2 separate regions of the Homo sapiens genome follow, and region 1 is linked to region 2. Evidence: promoter capture Hi-C in human tissues and cell types (Jung and others, 2019). All regions are on one chromosome and are shown on one strand. Each heading gives the region's core, a stretch centred on a gene start or on the middle of the fragment in contact. The rest is flanking DNA. Distances are from core to core; before and after follow the strand shown.

The links. The method cuts DNA at HindIII sites, captures the fragments that hold promoters and counts their contacts. A contact is called where the count stands out against the background at its distance.
Region 1: a fragment that was not itself captured here is called in contact with the fragment with the promoter of COL17A1 in region 2 in 1 of the 25 tissues and cell types used here (neural progenitor cells).

Annotation. Positions count from the first base shown.
Region 1 is chr10:104,049,601-104,053,113 of GRCh38, reverse strand. It overlaps COL17A1 (collagen type XVII alpha 1 chain), which reads left to right. Exons shown (of 56, transcript NM_000494.4): 23 at 1-83; 24 at 897-959; 25 at 1,598-1,633; 26 at 2,213-2,266; 27 at 2,458-2,493; 28 at 2,990-3,025. Among named protein-coding and RNA genes, the nearest start is that of MIR936, 3.2 kb to the right of the region's middle. RefSeq lists an enhancer at 1-32. The HindIII fragment of the contact is 6,067 bases long and covers 1-3,513 here.
Region 2 is chr10:104,083,595-104,087,252 of GRCh38, reverse strand. COL17A1 (collagen type XVII alpha 1 chain) reads left to right here and starts at 1,373. Exons shown (of 56, transcript NM_000494.4): 1 at 1,373-1,530. The HindIII fragment of the contact is 3,215 bases long and covers 1-1,915 here.

The DNA.
Region 1 (3,513 bases), core at 532-3,031, 35 kb after region 2:
CATGGGCCAGAGAGGGCGAGAAGGCCCCATGGGACCTCGTGGTGAGGCAGGGCCTCCTGGATCTGGAGAGAAAGGGGAAAGAGGTAAGAGGCAATTCCTTCACCGGCAGAGTTAGCTATGCCTGTGCTTCCTTCTCTCTGTCAACACCCGTCCCTCCTTCACTCTGTCTCTGTTTCTCCCCCCTTCCTTCATTTACTGAGCACCCACCCTGAGTCAGGGTCTGTGCTAGGCCCTGCAGAGACGCTGGGCATAGGCTGGGCTACAGGGCCAGGCCTAGGGCTGAGAACCCATCTGACATCCCTGGAATCCACCGGGAAAGTGGTCACAGGAGCAGTGGCCTTCCTGGAGTTGGGTGGTGAGGGTGAGGAGTCAGGCCGAGGTGGGGCTCAGGGGGCAGGGCAGGGCAGAGTCAATTGTAAGGTGGAGTGGGGCACAGACCTTTGAGCCTTTCCTAGCTGGAAGGAGGCCAAGAGGGAGGTGGGGAAGGCCCCAGACATAGGTTCAGTGCTGGAGAGGCTGGGGAAGGTGTTGCAATTCCATCCTTAACTATGAGACTGCTTTTGTCAGGGGAAACCAAGACAGATACCAGAAGTCCTCTTAATGCTAACAGACTGTGAGCAGGAAGCTTTATTTTCAGCTTTACTTTCTCTTTAAAATATTGCTCAACCAGACAATAAAATTTATTGAGTGCCTACTAGGTGTCAAACTCCATAGACTATAAAGTCTCTGGGGGTAGAAGCTAAGGAGTTTTGCTGATAAGTGGCCTCACTGGGGCACCAAATGGATCCAAGACCACTAGCAGGGTGGGAAGCATCCCCTCCAAATGACAGTGCCAGGATAGGGGGCAGCCACACTGGGGCCTCTCCCAAAGTGCTCATCCCTCCATTTCTCCTCAGGGGCTGCTGGTGAACCAGGTCCTCATGGCCCACCTGGTGTCCCAGGTTCTGTGGGTCCCAAAGGTAAGTCCAGTGTGCAGGAAGGAATCAAAGTTTTCCAGAGGAGAAGCCACATTCAGGATGGATCACAGAGAAGAGGCCCTGGGACCCCAGACAGCCCTAACCCCCTGCCCCAGGCCTGTGCAGGGGTGGTGGGTGGGTCCAAAGAGCATCCCCCAGAAAAGCAGTCCCTGGGGAGTCAAGACTAGGGCTGTAAGTTTAGCCCCATAATGGGCTTGGGGCCATGTTTCCATCTCTCTTCAATGGCCCCGTTATGTGATCCCTAAGTGGGTGGATGGATCATTCAGGAAATCAGAAGTTAGACCATTTCCTTGACTGACTGCGGCCCAGATGCACACACCAAAAGTAACATGTCTGGGCAACCCAGGGAGAATGGGCCCCTTCTCAAAACCCAAATGTTCTACTGCCCCAGCCCAAATGTTCTACTCTGACCAGGAAAGAGCAAAGGGTAGTTTGATCCCACCCAGCTGCACCCCCTCCCTAAGGAGGACATGCACTGGGGTCACCCCTGGCCTGCAATACACTCACACAGCCCTCACCTGGAAGACAGCGTCCCTAACCCCCACCTGCCCTGCACCGGGGCCAGATGTCCCCACCTGTATCTGCCCCTCTGCTGATTGCTGTCTTGTCCTCCTTCTCAGGTTCCAGCGGCTCTCCTGGCCCACAGGGCCCTCCAGGTCAGTTTGCTGCTTCTTGTAAATAGGTTCTGTTTCCAGGGCAAAGGTGGCAATGTTAAAAGGAAAACCAAATATTTTTAAAGCCAAAGAAGCAATTATAAAGCAAGCCTCCTAGAGATATAGAATTCAAGTCTGCATGTGTGTCTCCTGTGGCAGAGGTTGGGCTCCCTGATATGTCCTGTCCAGATCCCTTCTGACCTGGCTTAGGGCTTGAGACCCTCCAGCAGCTTCAGCAATGGAAGTCCCCATCCTGCCTCCATCTGAGCAAGCACCTGCCTCTCTCTTGTCCCCTATGGCCACAGAGCTTGTCCTGCTGTCTTGAGAATCTTGAGCTGTGGCCAGTGCCTCTGCCAAGACTCGACAATGTGTTCTAATGCCTGTTCATCAGCAGAGGCAAGGAACCTGGGCCAAAATGACTTAAAAAGGACTTGGGAAGGAGTCCATGGAAAGCATCCTTTGACTTTTACTATAGGGTGTGTGCATATGTGTGCCTGTATGTGTGCATGTGTGTGCATACATGTCTCATCATTCCAAAGCTAGGGATACTCATCTGTGTGCATGGTTTCTTCTGCCGGGCAGGTCCTGTAGGTCTCCAAGGGCTCCGAGGTGAAGTAGGACTTCCTGGTGTCAAAGGTAAGCTGGAGGGAGGCCTGGGGGGACAGTGAGGGTCTGATGGACACGACCCACAGCCTATGCAGGCTGACAAGTGCAAGAGGGGAAGAAGAAGTCAGGATTGAGGGAGCCTGTCTTCAGAGACAGACATTGCCCCTTCCTGGTTGTCCCTTGTAGGGCATTTTACACCAAGGTGTCCATTTCCTTTTTAGGTGACAAAGGACCAATGGGACCACCAGGACCCAAAGGTATGCCACTCACTGCTGCTCTGTCATTACCAGGGCCTGCCTCACTCCTGGGAGCCCAGATGGGACCCTCACTGTAGGGTCTGAGGGTGCACAGGACCTGGACCAAGATCTCATTCTAATCCAACCTCTCAGATAGGGAAACTGAGGCACAAAGAAGGGAAACAAAGCACTAACATCACATTGAATTCTGGGGTGGTGAGTGTTTCTCGGGGTGGTGAAGACACAGAATTCCAAGGCATCTGACCTCTTGTGTCCATGGCACCAATTTGTGCAACAGCAGGGGCTGGGGAGTCAGTTTGTAGGGGGGGAACTGACTCTGCCAAAGATCAGATGTGCTCCTTTGGCTGCATTAATGCTGTGTCCTCACCAACATCCGCTGACAGGAGTTCACGGATACAGTGAGAACTACCCTGCAGCCGGGGACCCTGTTACTGGGTGAGAGTGTTTTCCTTGCTCACAACTGTGGCTTTTTCCACCTCCCCCTTGTTTGCTTTAGGTGACCAGGGTGAGAAAGGACCTCGAGGCCTCACAGGTCAGTCTGTCATGGGAATCTACTTTAATCTATCCACGACTTTTGTAAATCCATCAGTCACTAGGTTGGAAAAAATCCAGAAGTAAGAGACCGAATCTGTTTAAAACCCTTCAGGGAACTTGTGATCTAGAAAAAACACAAGATGAGAAAATAAAGCCTGGAGTGGAGGATAAGGAGGTATCCAGATGTATAGTCCAAACAGTAAATGTTTGGAGCAAAAAAGAAAGTGTAGGATTGTCTCTGATTCTTTTGGGGAATACAGTTGAGAAAATTAAGCTCTTCCCGAAGCAGCAGAAAGTTTGCACCCCGGTATCCTCTCAACCACTGACCTCCTGCCAACTGGCATGATTATAAAGGAAATTGACAGTGATAAAGCTGTGACTCAAGGGGTGGTTTTCAGTTTCCAAGGAAATAAGACTCATGCACATGCCCATGATTCTGATTAGGTGTGGTTTCTGGTTGAGCCCATGCCACTTCCCAGGGGTTCC
Region 2 (3,658 bases), core at 124-2,623:
GAAACTGACGGAAGACATATTGAGTATTTATTTGGGGAAGGCAAGAACATCCTACAAAGCAAGTGTCAAATTCTGCATAATTGAAAGGGTTCTGAAATGCACGACTCCAGTGTGGAATATGGGCAGCTTAGGAGCAAGAGCCCCACAGCTGTTGTTGTGGTCTGCTACCCTTCCATGGGATGCAGTGCCCACAATAGCAAGGTGCAGTTGCACATCGGTGCTATGCTGTAAGGGCCCCACTGCTCCCCTCCAGTATCTTAGGATAATGCCTCAGAACTGGGAATCCCAGTGTGATGCTGGGTCCCAGGAATGTGCTATGGCCTCAAAGGACTGCCTGAGTGAGTTCCAGGTTCAGACTTCCCATTTTACCAACACCAAGTGTCTCAAGCTAGTCTTTAGGCCCCCTGGGAAGCCAGATGCTATCCAGGTATTCATAAGAATTATCCTGATTGATGCAAGTTGACCCTCTAGGGAAATCTAAAGGTCCCCAGGATGTACTTGGAGTTGCAGGACATCTGGGAGCCCACACATGTCTTTAGGTGTATGGAGACTATGCGGTCACCTGATTTGAAGGACAAGAAGGTCCTTATCCCTTCCCAACAGCACCTCTCTCCATTATTAGGTGGCTAAATGCCTAAAATTCCATCACTAACATGTCACTCTTTTAGGTCAGCATCACTATATCTGGTTGCCTCTTTTGTAAAACGAACCCCTACCCCACCAATTGCTCAGTACATTCAGTCATTAGCATATTATGAATTAGTTCACCAACTATTTTCTCCAGATGGGCTTGACCTGGCTTGAGTCACAAGAGGGGAAAGAGGACAAAGACATCTATAGGGGAAACAAGACAAAGGACACAGGACACAGGAACAGAGGACGAAGACATCTATAGGGGAAACAGATCTTGAATATAAATCCTGCCAACTTCAGTTTTTCTAGGGCTCAGGCAGTATGACCACAGGCCATCCATGTGCCTAGACCATGCTCATCCATGAGCCCATCCACGTGCCTAGACTCATGAATCATGCAGTGGGATTCCAGTACCCATGGCACTGAGGAAGGGTACTGCCACAAAGTTGTGGCAGTTCTCCAGCTGTAGAAGGTAGGCAATAAAAAAGCATTTCCTTTATGCTGGTCCTTTGTTTCCTTTTCCCCATGGGCCTTATAAATAGTTAATCTACCTAAGCTGGAAGGAGAAGCTTTCTGCCTCCAGTAAAGTTTGATTCCTGGAGGCAGATTTTTTTTTTAAATCCAGCAAGTGTCAGATAATTGGAAGGGTGGAGTAACGCTGTAAACCATGACACACCTTTGTCAGGACATGTTTGGAAGCAAAGAGTTGAAAGAAACAAGGTGGAGAGAAAGAAAAGTGAACATTTTTGAAAGATCACTCAGCTTTAACACACCTTGGCTGGGTCTGGATAAAAAAAAAGTGAGCACTGCAAATTTCTAGAAGAAAACATCAGGAGAAGAAAGAGAGAGGGGGATTTATTCAAAGTTGTTTCCAATTCCTTCAAAACCTCAAACCAGGTAAGTAAACAGGAAGACTGACCTTTCTCCTTTTCTCTGAGACTTTGATTTAAGGTTTGCCATTTAGAAATTAAATGTTTATTGGAGAAAAGAAGATGAAGTTCTGTAGTTTCTAGCATTCTGGTTAAAGTGATCAATTGGTTATAAAAGATGACTTTGGTGTATGCATTCTGCTTAGGGTAGGTCTTTCAAAGGAAATAAGTGGGGAAAAGGAGAAGGCTGAAGGCTGGTTAAAATATAGCGGGCTTTAGAGGCAAGACCTTTCTGCATTGTTTTCAGCATTGTAAAATGACTTGTGTTGTTTTATTTAGAATATGATACGGGCTTATAATTCCTTCTCTCCCAATCTCAGTTTCCTCTCTCGCTATCTTGCTCTCCTCTTCCCTCTGTCTCTCTCTCCACTGGACGAAGAGAACAACTCAGGGGTGAAGTTAAAGTATAGGTAAGGGGGCCTTCTAGAAACAGTCCCTGTGCTGACTGGGCCTCTCTGATTAAGCCATACATGGTAAACATTGCTGTTTACCATGCTGTAAAATTACCTCTAATCTAAAGAAAAGTAGGATCTTTGAAATGATCTGATTAATTCAGAAATTTTGCAGGATCAAACTTAGAGGAATAAAAAAAGGAAGAAAATTGTTTCCCGTATATATACTCTTACGAGTCAACTTGGGTTTCCTCCTGCCAAAAAAATTCACTTTGAGATGAGAATTACCAGTTTAGATACCTAAGTGGATGACGTTAACTGGTAACTGACAAATTATCACTTTACTTTTTGAAGTGGAGGCAAAACCTCTGGCACATTCCTTCTTTTGAGAAGTAGTTAATCAGTAGTCTAATAGTGGACTTGTAAAACGTAGCAAGATTTTTAAAAGGTATTTATTTGAAAAGCAGAATAGTTTCTTCTTACCTCCATATGTTCTCTCTTAGAGCTAAGGCACAGATCTGTCAGAACTAACCTAAGACAGATGTCTATCCCCACACAGACTCACTCCAGAGATTCAGAGGTGTCCTGCTTTACTCTTAGGCCCTGCAAAACACCCACATGAGTCTGATCAGAGTTTACACAGGAACAATTAAAGTGAACAGCTCTGCTTCAAGCTTGCATAGAAACTTACCAGCCTGGGTAACATGGCAAAACCCTGACTCTACAAAAAATACAAAATTAGCCAAGCATAGTGGTGTGCGTAGTGGTGCACACTCATATTATACTAACCCCATCTCTACTAAAAATACAAAAATACAAAAATTAGCTGGGTGTGGCGGTGCATGCCTGTAACCCCAGCTACTTGTGAGGCTGAGGCAGGAGAATTGCTTGAACCCAGGAGGCAGAGGTTGCAGTGGGCCAAGGTTGTGCCACTGCACTCCCACCTGGGCAACACAGCAAGACTCCGTCTCAAAAAAAAAAAAAAATAGGAAAAAAACTCCTTAGATTGGTGAAACTGACCTGACCTAAGAACTAACCACCTTCTCAGATTATGAAAAACAAAAAGAAGTCTGTGTTTACATTGTTTGTTTCATTTGCCATTATTAACAGTGGCAGGACACAACTGTAAACAAACCAGCATAATCACAAAGCTGGTGCCCTATCCCACCTGCTCCCAGTCATGAAAATCCAGGATACCAAATGTAGCAAGCAGCAAACCCATCTCTGGGGTGTTACAGAGACAAAGCCTCCAAGATATTCAATTCCAGGGCATTGGCTTTCCTGGCATCAAACTGCTGGGCCCTTCTGTGTTATCAGGTCAATAGCCAGTGGATGGTTTTCTAATACTTTGGCAATTTTGTTGTTGTTTTGTTTTAAAATTTAAAGTGTATAGAGAATGGAGTAATAGAAGCTATAAAAATACTTGCAATTCATTAGCAGAGTATAGGAACATTTGTTCCTAAAACAAAAAATAAAGAGAAAAATACTTAGCTTCTTCATTCTCTTTGTTGTATCAAGAACAAAGTGTTTCATGTGTCATTAGAATAAGATAATGTGATGGTTTAAACCCAAATGTGATGGTAAACAGTTAACGTGATGGTTCACTGTCACTAACAGTGGTTTGTCCTTGTGTGTGTGTGTATGTTAGACAGCATCGGCTGAATAGTTTTAGGTAGACGTGACATCATTTAAATAAAGGGGAAA